Regions from separate parts of the Homo sapiens genome. Here all the other regions are linked to region 2. The links are contacts of gene promoters, found by promoter capture Hi-C in human tissues and cell types (Jung and others, 2019). All regions are on one chromosome and are shown on one strand. Each heading gives the region's core, a stretch centred on a gene start or on the middle of the fragment in contact. The rest is flanking DNA. Distances are from core to core; before and after follow the strand shown.

Region 1 (3,809 bases), core at 320-2,819, 53 kb after region 2:
GGAATGCTTTCATAAAAACCCAGTAGGACTGGGCTCAGGTGCTTCCAGATGACTGAAAACGTGGAGGTTGATGGAAGCTCGGAACCCCTTCCCCCATACCTTGCCCTATGCATCTCTTCATCTGTATCCTGTGTACTATCCTTTATAATAAACCAACAAGTAAGTGTTTCCCTGAGTCGTGTGAGCTGCTGCAGCAAATTAATCAAACCCAAACAGGGGGTCGTAGGAACCCTAACTTGAAGATGTCCGGTCAGAAGTTCTGGAGGTCCAGACTTGCAGCTGGTGTCAGGGCGTATGACGGGAATCTTGGGGACTGTGGGATCCAGTTCCCAATGCCAGGGAGCCTCCAACCTGTGGGATCTGACACTGTTTCCGGGTAGTGTTGGAATTGAATTGGAGGACACCCAGCTAGTGTCTGCTGCTTCGTGTCGGGGGGAAAAAACCCACACATTTGGTCACAGAAGTCTTCTGCGTTGACTCTTGTGGTGATGGGGAAGTAGAGGAAAAATGCAGTCAGTGAGACTTTTTCCCCGAAACAAGCCTCTTTTATAAGTACCCTAATCCCATGCATTTGGGCGCAGCCCTCATGACTTAATTACTTCCCAAAGGCCTCACTACCATAGCAGGTATTAGTTTCCAAGATATGAATTTAGGGGAACAGCAACATTCAGGCTGGGAAGAAGAGTAGTTAGCAGCTGGGAGACTAGCTGGGGGTTCTGTGGATGCCCAGGAGAGGGTTGAAGGTGTTGCCACATTATTTTTCTCTTTTGTTTCATTTGTCTTTTTCACCCTTAAGTAGATATTCTGAAAGTCTGCCTACTTGATTACTTTTTGTCTAAGAAACTGCTCTCAGGTTTATTGGCTTTTTTGATGTTCTCTTTTTAATAATTCATTAACAGTGTTTTTTATCTTTGCTTTATTTTGTTGTTGTTGTTGTTTTTGTTTTTACTCATTTCTGCTTCTTAAGCTTAGCTCATCTGTTTGTTGCTTTCTTTAAAAACAAAAACAGGCCGGGCGCGGCACCTGTAATACCAGCACTTTGGGAGGCCGAGGCGGGCCAGGAGTTCGAGACTAGCCTGGCCAACATGGTGAAACCCCGTCTCCATACACAAAAAATTAGCCGGGCATCATGGCGCCTGCCTGTAATCCCAGCTACGCAGGAGGCTGAGGCAGGAGAATTGCTTGAACCCAGGAATTGGAGGTTGCAGTGAGCCGAGATCGTGCCACTGCACTCCAGCCTGGGCAACAGAGTGAGACTCCATCTAAAAAAAGAAAACACACACACACACACACACACACACACACACACACACACACTTGTTGATTTCAATATATCCTATAAATCTGATAGGTAGCAAAACCTTAGTTTCACCAGACATTGCCGGTTTAGGCACTAATGGCCTTGCATCAGTGACCCAAATTTCACTGGGTCAAGGTCCCACATGGACAGCGGTCATCTTTTTTAACCCTCTTAAGTTTGAGGAACTCCCCACCATATAAAGTGGAACCTACCTACCGTATTTTAAATGAATAGCCCCGATACTTTTCCCAGCTCCTTTTGTGCTAAGACATGGGTCCTAGACCCTACATTACAATCCAAGGACAGGAAGAGCTGGTGGCTGTGCAGAGCCCTCCTGGGATGCAGGTAGCCAGGGCCACAGCCACATACTATGATGGAGGAGCTTGTGGCATCTGGAAGCCAACAGCATAAAATGTTCCATGAAAGAGGGATGACCAAACACATCAAATGTCTTAAATGAACCGGAGAAAGGGAGCAATGAAAACTGGCCACTGGCTGTGGAGACCATGGGGAGTGGAATCAGGGGCCGCTCTTTCTGATGGTGTCTGTGTTCTCTGTGAACAGGGAAGGAAGCGGCGCGAGGGGATGTTGGAGGCTGGAGGAGAGAAGGTGTGTGGGCATCCACAGAAGGGGATCAGTACTGAGTAAGGTTGGCACTTTTTTGAGATTTCTTGAACATATGCAAATTTCCAAACATTGAAAAATTTCTGTAGCAGCAAGTCCCCATAACGTGTGCACTTGTTTCAGAGGACGCAAGCGTAAAAGCCAGATCAACTGTACTCTAGAGCCAATGCTAAGGGGTAGAACCTCCAGGCAGCTGGAAAGATGTATCAGGTCCCCAGAGTCTGTGGAGGGAATTACAGGATTGCTCCTGGAGACCCTGAGTGGGCAACAAGGGCTGAGTGGCTGGTGGCACAGCGGGAACCTTGTGCTCCTCACAGTCCTGAGCCCTCTTCTATGTGGTCTTTCTTCCATGAGGAAAATTGGACTTAAAATGTTTGGATTTCACTGATGTAGATCTCCAACAAATGTTTTTTTTTCCACTTTAATAGATCCCGGTAATTGCAAAAATCTAGTGGAGGTTATTTCTTGCACTCACTTCTGCTTTGACTGAATAATATATCTCCTTCCCCAGATGAGGACACGTTTTAAATGTGCTCCATCAGAGGCCTCTACTTTCCGCTGTGGTTTAAATGCTTATCTTTGAATGTGCTCCTAGTCTATGAGTGAATTGGAATAAGAATATAAATATTTGAAATGGCTAAAAGCAGACTTCCCCTGTCAAAACAACTGCAGTTTACCTCGAAAAGTGAACCCCACAGAACTTAAGAGGCTTCCCTTTCAGGCTTACACCCCAGACAACACTTTGAGCCTAATCTTTGGGCTTTCTAATTACTGACTTCCACTTGTTTTTTAATTTTAATTTAATTTATTTTTTTATTTTTTTGAGATGTAGTCTCGCTCTGTCACTCAGGCTGGAGTGCAGTGGTATGATTTCGGCTCACTGCAACCTCTGCCTCCCGTTCTCAAGCCATTCTTGTGCTTCAGCCTTCTGAGTAGCTGGGATTACAGGCACACACCACCACACCCGACTAATTTTTGTATTTTTTGTAGAAACAGGGTTTCACTGTGTTGCCCAGGCTGGTCTCAAACTCCTGAGCTCAAGCAGTCTGCCCGTCTTGGCCCAAAGTGCTGGGATTACAGGCATGAGCCATGACTTTCAATTTTAAAAGAGTAAGAGATTCTCCACACGTGTTCCCTACAATGTTAAGTCTCTGTGGCAGACAAGGAGTTGTAAATGGAACTTACAAAGAGGCAATCAAAATTATAAATTGTAAATTTAATTATAAGTATATAGTCTTATAAAATTATAAAACTAAATTATGCATTAAATTATAAATTGAGTCCATATATTGAATGCTACAAAAATTATAAATTGAATGCCAAGTATTACAATCCTATATTAAAGGGTTTTTACCCTATTCCTATTTACAAAAGGATATTTGACTACCTGACTTTCACTTATTCTCATGCCAATGTTAAACATAAATCTTACACCTGTGAAGATATAGACAGAAGCAGTCCATATTCTAAGAGTGAAATACTGATTTGATTGTGGATGTGACGCTACACCACCGAGCGAGGATGTTTTCACTGGCTGCAGTTAAACTCCGGAATAGGACCGTAAGAGAATCCTCTAAATAGCTCATTCCTATTTTCCAAGCACACTAGTAAAACCACTGTGGAGAACAACTGAACACTCTATAGGTCAGCCTTTGACCATAAATAAATAGGAGATGATAAAAACAGATAAATAAATAAGAACAAAGACCAAGGTTCTTCGGGTGCTTATTGTCTTTCACCACGTGCTGCATTTCGCACGACACATCCGCCGCTTTCCAAACCTTTCCCCTCTTGACTTTCTGTATCCCTTCATTTGTTCAACAGCTCTTCATTGAGCGTCCACTATGCCCTCGGGTGTTGAGTTACATCCCACACATGAAGGTCC
Region 2 (4,066 bases), core at 843-3,342:
TCTTTGGGGGTCTCGGGCACCACCTTGGTTTCCAGCGCAGCTGCCACCTTAGCCGCGCCCTCCTGGGGCTCGGGTCCCTGCTCCTCGGTCTGGGAGAGCATGTCCCAGAACTCCTGTAGATAGGTGTCGTCCACCTCGTCCGGGCTGGCCATCTCTTCCCCGCCTCCTTGGTAGGCCACCACGCCGGGGTTCTTTTTAGACAGAGCCGGCTTGCCTGGCCCGGGGACATGCTTGTCACAGCTGGGACCTGCCTCTTCCTCTTGGTCTGCAATAATATCTCCACAGCCTGTAAGAGAGTCAAAGCTTTTCAGTGAAGTCACGTCAGAAAACATCAAACAAATACGATCTGCCGACGGGTCTGAGGGTGGATCGACAGAGGCAGGGTCTGGGGCGGCGGGCGCCCGGCCGCTGCCGCCTTCGGAGTCGACAAGGGGGACCGTCTTTACGGGAACGGCCCCCGTCCTGGAAGCGTCCTCTGCCGTGCGGACCTCCCCGGGCCCCGGCTCGGCGCGCCGATGCCCCGCGGCGTCCTCTCCCCGGGCGCCGGTGTCGCCGGGGTGCGCGAGGCCCTCTGCCTCTCGGCAGCTCCGCGCTGGGGCGCGGTCGGCGGGGGCGGGCACCTCCTCTCCCCCTGCGGGCTCACCTGCTGGGTCTCGCGGGGCGTCCTGGCTGGGCTCCTCCGGCTCGCGCGCGGCTCTGGGCGTCTCCTCCTTGACGCACTCCAGGCTGGCGGTGAGCGAGCCGGGTAGGATCAAGCCGCCCCCGGGCGCGCGCCCCTCCGCGGCCTCCGCCTTGGCCCGCTTGTCTTTCCTGTGCCAGCGCATGCCGCTGAACAGCCCCCGCAGCCCCCGCTTTTGTTTGCCGCCGGCCTTGCTCGCGTCCACAGGCTCTCCCTTGCCGTTTTCCGAGCGCCCGTTCTTCTTCAGCAGCGAGAAGAAGCTGTGCGACTTGGCCACCGAGCTGCTGGCGAGGGAGCCCCCGCCGGGCCCTGCGGCTCTGGGGGGCCCCGGGTTCGGCCGCCCCCCGCCGCCCCCGCCGCTGTCGCCCCCGCCGCGCGGCTCCTCCTTCCTGCCGCTCTCCAGCACCAGCACCTCGGCAAGTCCGTCGTGGGTCCTGCTCCTCACCAGCCCCGTCGGACCCGAGCTTTTCCCGTCCCCTTTGTTTTTGACCCCAAAAATGCTGGGCATGGTGCCACCCGATTTCCTCTTCTTGAATAATTTGAAGGCAGCTTTATTAATCTTCCCCGACGGCGGCTCGGCGGCCGGCGTTTCGGCGGCACAGTCACAATGCAAGTCCATGTCTGCCGCGAGGGTCCCGGTCCCGGCCCCGGCCTCCGCCTTCCTCCTGCAGACCCCCACGGACGCGCCAGCTCCGCCGCGCTCGCTGACAGCCCCGCCGCCGCCGCGGCTCCGGCTCGTCTCCATGGAAACCGCGCGGGATAAGCCGCTTTCGTCAGCAGTGGGCTCGCGCCAGGCCACTGTCACCCGTATTCTAAATCAACCTGAGCCGCGCTCGCCGCCGCCGCTGCAAAAGAAACACACATAAAAGACCATCTTCCCTCCCGCAAGGGCTTATATAATACCCTAACCCACTTCCATCCGACTTGGCTCGGCGCTGCATGGCGTTTTTGTGGCAGGAGCAGGCAACACAGCCGCGAGCTGATTGCAGAAATTCGAGTCGTAATTATGGAATTCAAATTCCCTCAACTCTCACCCACCTTCGGATTCCTTCTCTAGACTCGCTCTTCACGGGAGCGCAACCATGGATCACGAAATGCCTCTAAAAACGACAACGCAATTCAACCCACCACAAAATGCTTGTTTTTCTTATCCTCTCTCCTAGACTCCCTGCATCTTCATGCCTTTCCCAAGCCCTTCATGTCTGTCCTTAGCATTGGTGCACTAAGCCCAGCAGGCAGGAAGCATGTCTGCCTACATCCATGTCTTGTCCAGAGCTGAGCACACGCTAGGTCCATGCTGTGTGGCTGTCATTGTGGTTATGGTTCTTGTGACAAAAGTACACGCCACCACTCAATCAGTCTATCAGCAGCCCAGCAATGCAAGCACAACAGCTCCCCGGGGTGGAGTTTGCCTGCACCTTTGGGACAACCATGACTTTTATCCCAGACTCCAGCCACCACGGGATGAAGTCACAGATGCTGCGGCACAGCCCACATCTGATAACAATAGACAAGCTGACCGAGACACACAGGCTGGGAATCTCAGACCCACTCCACAGGTGGGCCTTCGAGTCCGGGTTCTGCCCTCTCCTTTCCCACTCAGCAGGACAGTGGCATTATTCCTGTCACTGCGGTACCACTCCCCTCCCCCATACCACCAGGGCTGACTTGTAGTCCCCTTCCCCAATGTACAGAGCAGGAAAAGCTTGGCAGGGGTCCCTGTGTGTCCAGGGATCTCTGCAGACATTCCTACCTGCCTGGTCTGGGGAGAGGGAAAACCTTTTTTCTGGGAACAGCTCAGTCTAGGGATCTGTTCTGTGTTCTGATTTAAAAAGTGACTGCTAATATTCTAATCTTGACATCTGATTTCATAATCCCAGCTGAGTGCTTTTTAGCAAAAAGAAATTTGGAGAAGCATATACATATATAAATATAACATGTATATATAGTATATATTATTTAATCATTTGATTATTTATTAAATATCATTTAAGAATATATGTAATAATTACATATATACACAAACAGTAGTCTTTTCCCTACTCATTTTTTATATGCTCTTTGCATTAGGCCAATAAATCCCAATCCCCATCCACATAAGTTGGCGTTTTATAAATGACGTATGTTGGCCATTGCAGCTTCTGTTGTTATGAGATACAGCTGGTTAAAATTTAGACCTTGGAGTTCTTAGTTGTATTATTTCCTTTTTTTGTTTATTTTTTTCAAGAACACTGTTTTGTAAAACGAAGAAATCAATGAGTTCAGGTTCAGGAGAGGTTGTCACTTCCAGACTCTAATCCCATCAACTCTTTCTCACTATTGATGAGCATCTCTCCTGGTACAGGAAGTAAGGTGAGGCCAGAGAGAGGCTTTCCCGGATTCTAATTGACCGCTTGACATGATGAATCAGAGTCCTCAGTGCTTTCTGGGGAGACCACGTGTAAGGAACTGTAAAGAGAAACCCATTTGTTACGTCTTTACAACCTTTTGAAGAACAATAGAAAGTCTCTCAATTTTACACACATACACACACACACACACAAACACACACACACCCATACAGTTGCTTAGATTTGTGGGTTACTATGTAGCTCTGTCAGTTTGGAAGAGTTTGTGACTGGGATCAAGGAAAAGTAAGTCGCCTATTAAAAAATCTCCCTTTCTCCACTGGGAGAAAGTGGTCTGCTTATTCACCCATCAGGACAGGTCAAATGTGACTCTAATTTACATGAGAATCTTTGGGCCTCCTGGGAGAAATCTGATAGAGGACTTTGGGATGGATATCATTCTTTTGGGACATCAACACTCAAACAAAGAGAAAGAGACAAAGCTGTCTTCAGCCTGCGGAAGGTGCCCTCACTGTGAGTTACTGGCCCTGAGATAGAAGAAAGCAGGGACCCCTGGAACAATCTGAAGGCACTGGGCATGGGAGCTGTAGAGGCTGCGGTGTGAGTGAGGACCCTCCAGCGTCCTACTCAAAGTCCTTGTTACAGAGACAGTGGGAAAAACGAGGGTGAAGTCAGCTGAAAGGAACTTACCCCAAAAGCCAGACAGGTAAGGAGAGACTCTGTAGGGGAGAGAGATGAGGCGCAGGATGGTCCAATGGTTTGTTGGTTAGAGCCAGGTTATGAATCATCACAAAGACTGAGCCATACCTTATATTAAACTTCACAGTCAAGAGTGGAGAAAGCAAAATGGTGATTTTTTTTTTCCCTGAGAGACAGAACATGACAGTGAAGATAATTTTACCGTAAGCACTCCCATTTTTGTTTATAGTTTCTTCTTTCATTCTTTTCCCCCATCCTGCCCCAGCTTGGGAGTGAATAGAAAATTAGAGTAGAAAGGAATAGAGAACAGGACCGAGGGGAAACATTTCAGGGAAAAGCC
Region 3 (4,111 bases), core at 12-2,511, 39 kb before region 2:
CTTTATGTGTTTTTTTTCTCTCCATTTTCCCCCCAAAGTCCAAGGCCTCCTCGAGTTTTGGGTTTTATACGATCTTTGTCAGTCAGTCTTAATCCAGTTGCATTTCATTTGCAACAGATTCTCTTCAAGCCCCTGCACTGTCAATCTTGTCACGAAAATCACTCACAGATGCAGAGCTGTCAGTAGCATAGGTTTGTGACAGATTTGGGACATCATAGCCATACTGAGTCCTGTGAGACTTTACCCAGGCCCTGGGACTTGGTCCAACTTTTGTTGGTGATGCTTTTATTCCTGGCTTCACTGCTCCTGCACTCCCTGTCTAAAGCTGTCTCTGACCCTTTGTTGATACCCTCCGTTAACAGTCCCTTAATACATGACAAAGGGCTACACCTACACGCTGGTCTTTCAGAGGCACCAGCCCCAAGGGCTGGCTGGGGAGTGGGGTTTATACAGACCTCAGTTCTGTCCTTCCCAAACTCCCCGACACCCAACACACACACATCATCTGTGCTTTATTGAATTCCCATCCTTTCCTCTTGTTCTAACTCAAATAAGCTGTACTGTTCCTTCTGTTCTGGCCTGTCAGCCAGTGAGCAGGATGAAATGAATGTGAATCAATGAATAAATAAGTGATACAGATACAAGAGAGTCAGTGGTGTGATAGCTAACTCTTGGGGCTGTGTGGGCCAGGTTAAGGACAGAGCAAAACTCCACTGAGGGTGGCCTCTAAGGGTGGCCAAATACAAAGTATAAATGGCACCAGGGACTACTTACATGGCAACTTGGAAAGACTGTATAACTCTATCATGCTTCCAGCTATTGTCATTTTTCCAACTTTAGGTTATTCTTTCTTTTAAGAATACTTTCTTCTGCTACTCTGCAGCTGGGATGCTTATAAGCCAGTTAATTGGTGCCAACATAAAGAAAGGCCCTTTGGTTCCATTTTCCCAGGTTTTGGGGGACATCTGAGCCAAGAGAACTGTGGCATCCTCATACATTAATGAGCTATCTGTGACTTGGGCATTTTGGAACAAAAGTGTGGTGTGGAATGTGGCCAAATCACTCACACAGTGTGTAAATGCATTCACTTCCTCCTCATATATTATAGACTACATGCAGGGGTCTAGCAGAGAGGGGTGGCGGGAGTCCAACAGTGAACACGACATCCTGGCCTTTCCGAGATCATTTTCTCAAAAGAAAGACAGAGGAGTCAACAGGCAAGTAAAATAGGCTGCAACAGAAGGTTCTGTTTGTTGTGTTTATTCTGGGGAAAAACTGCTCCCCTCACAGTGTATCTATAGTGTTGTGAAATTAGAAAACAATTTTGAAAACTCTGTTCATATTAGATGCTTACCAGAACACTCCCATGGGAGGAGGTGTGTTCCTGAGTCATAGAGAAGCTGAGCAGACAGATGGAGCTGATATCATGGGCCAGAATATTTTGTAGGTGCAGGGTCCATCTTTCATCACTGCCATGCGAGTGAGCTGTGAAGTGGGAGGGGACCGTATATGGACTGGACCTCAGGTGCTGAAGGAGAATGAAGACTCTAGAAGCAATATTTGGTGTAAAACTTACTTTGGAAGAAGATGTCGAGGCAGCAGGTTTTTTGGCTCCTGGTTCCTCAAAGTTGGCAAGAACTAGGTGCTTGTTAGAAGTGTTGAATCTCAGGTTACACCCCAGATTTCCAGAATTAGGATATGCATTCAGTAAAATCTCCAGATGGTTCATAAGCACATAACAGTTTCAGAAGTGCTGATCTACAACTGGAAAGAAGGTACACCTTACAGCCTATCTCAGAAGTCTAGACCTGGAAAAAAGATACAGCCTAGGATGGAGACAAGAGTCGGAGGAGACAGAGTAGGCACAATGCAAAGAAGCTCAAGAGGGTGCTGCTACAGAGGACTGCCCAGGGCATGAGCACATCTTGTACTGAATAAACTGCTCACTGCTTTTTCTGGGACCTCTCCTTACAACCTGAAATCATCTGCCTTAATAAAACCAATAGTAGCTAAGACTTTGATGGTGCCAGACACTCTTCCAAGCACTTTACCTGTATCAACTCATTCAATCTTCACAACCCATAAGGGGGTTATGAATAGTCTCTTCATTCCACAGATGAGAAAATCGAGGCACTGACGTGAAGTGGCTTCCCCTAAAAGCCCACACAGCTAGCAAGTACCAGACCAGGATTCAAACCCAGGCAGTGCCATCCTTTATCACCATGCTCTTGTGCCTTGCAGGATCTTAATCTGTTTGTATTTGCATTTAGTTCTTTTTGTTTTCCTTGGTGCTATGGTTTGAATATGTCCCCCAAGAAAGCATGTGTTAGAAGCTTAATCTCCAATGCAACAGTGTTGGGAGGTGGGGCCTAATGGGAGGTGTTTAGGGTGTAAGGGCTACACTCTCATGGATGGATTCATGCCAGTTACAATGGGACTTGAGGCTACAAGTTCAGTCTCTCACTTGCTCTCTTGTCATGCAATTCCTTCTGCCATGTTACAAAGATGCAAAGAAGGCCCTCACCAGATGCTGAGCAGATGTCAGCACCATGCCCTTGGACTTCCCAGTCTCCAGAATCATAAGCCAAATGTCTTAGTCCATTTTGTGTTGCTATAACAAAATAACAGAGACTGGATAATTTCTAAACAAAAGAGGTTTATTTCTTATAGATCTGGAGGCTGGGAAGTCCAAGTTCAAGTGTCTCACATCTGGCAAGAGCCCTCATGCTATGTGTCAACCCATGGTGGAAGGCGAGAGGGTAAGTGAAGGCAAAAGACAGAGGAGAGGAGGTCAAACTTACCCTTTTTTCAGAAGCTCACTCCCACAATAACAACATTAATCCATTCATGAAGGTGGAGCCCTCATTACCTAATCACCTCTTAGAGGTCTCACCTCTCAACACTGTTGCATTGGGGATTAAGTTTCCAACACATCAACTTTAAGGGATGCATTAAAACCACAGAACAAAATAAATTTCTCACTCCAGCCTGGGGGACAGAGCAAGACCCTGTCTTAAATAATAATAATAATAATAATTTTAAAATTAATTAATTAATTTCTTTTTTATATAAATTACCCAGTCCATGCAGCACAAAGGAACTAAGATGCTTAGAGTGTCAGCTTTGGTTTGTTTATTTGATTTTATTATCCTAACTCTACAGTCCTAAACAGAAATAAGAGGCAGAGACAGGTGTGTCCTAGGCTGTCCCCTCCTCTGGTCTCCTGTCCTGTCACCTTTCACTAGAGCATGCAAACTGGCAGCCCAGGGGCTGAATTCAGCCTACGGTGTGTTTTGCTTCACTGTAGGTGTTTTAAAAATCAGAAATTTTTACACAAAAATCTATATAATCCCATTTGCTCTCTCTGGCTTGCCACAGTACCCACCACATTCTGAGGTCTTATTGCTGGCAGCTACATTTGTTCACACTCTGCCTCCATCACAAAATGATGTCTTTCTCCCATGTGTCTCCTCCTATAAACTATCAGCTCCACAAGAATGCATGTCTTCGGCCGGGCACGGTGGCTCACGTCTGTAATCCTAGCACTTTGGGAGACTAAGGCGAGCGGATCACCTGAGGTCAGGAGTTCGAGACCAGCCTGACCAACATGGAGAAATTCTGTCTCTACTAAAAACACAAAATTAGCCAGGCGTGGTGGAGCATTCCTGTAATCCTAGCTACTCAGGAGGCTGAGGCAGGAGAATCGCTTGAACCCAGGAGGCGGAGGTTGTGGTGAGCCAAGATCAAACCATTGCGCTCCAGCCTGGGCAACTAGAGTGAAACTCCGCCTCAAAAAAAAAAAAACAAAAAATAAAGAATGCATGTCTTCTAGTCATGAGTGTCCCCCTGAACCCAGCACTGTGCCTGAAATAATCAGCTGGATTGCTGATCCATGCTTATCACATTGTGTGTTCTTGAGGAGGAGCAAAATGCAGAGCAGGTGGGAAGCAATGCCCCAGAGGAATGACTGTGGAAGTGAGAACAGGGGAGTTAGCCTGAGTATCCTAGACTCGATGAAGAAGGCTTTTGTACAATCATTGTGGTTCATGGTGATCCAAGGACAAATCTTTCCTTCAAAGCAAGCTGTCGGGAAATCCCATTTCTCATTGAA

Evidence for each region. The method cuts DNA at HindIII sites, captures the fragments that hold promoters and counts their contacts. A contact is called where the count stands out against the background at its distance.
Region 1: a fragment that was not itself captured here is called in contact with the fragment with the promoter of AMER2 in region 2 in 1 of the 25 tissues and cell types used here (dorsolateral prefrontal cortex).
Region 3: a fragment that was not itself captured here is called in contact with the fragment with the promoter of AMER2 in region 2 in 3 of the 25 tissues and cell types used here (dorsolateral prefrontal cortex, neural progenitor cells and spleen).

Annotation. Positions count from the first base shown.
Region 1 is chr13:25,224,037-25,227,845 of GRCh38, forward strand. LOC105370121 (a long non-coding RNA gene) reads right to left here. Exons shown (of 3, transcript XR_941763.3): 3 at 3,122-3,809. Among named protein-coding and RNA genes, the nearest start is that of LINC01053, 45 kb to the left of the region's middle. RefSeq lists an enhancer at 2,101-2,270. The HindIII fragment of the contact is 3,211 bases long and covers 1-3,175 here.
Region 2 is chr13:25,170,196-25,174,261 of GRCh38, forward strand. AMER2 (APC membrane recruitment protein 2) reads right to left here and starts at 2,093. Exons shown (of 1, transcript NM_152704.4): 1 at 1-2,093. The coding sequence starts at 1,424. It overlaps LINC00463 (long intergenic non-protein coding RNA 463), which reads right to left. Exons shown (of 4, transcript NR_120428.1): 3 at 3,718-3,892; 4 at 2,629-3,127. RefSeq lists a silencer at 583-672 and an enhancer at 2,952-4,066. The HindIII fragment of the contact is 4,196 bases long and covers 1-3,381 here.
Region 3 is chr13:25,131,853-25,135,963 of GRCh38, forward strand. No RefSeq gene overlaps it. Among named protein-coding and RNA genes, the nearest start is that of PABPC3, 38 kb to the left of the region's middle. The HindIII fragment of the contact is 5,264 bases long and covers 1-3,893 here.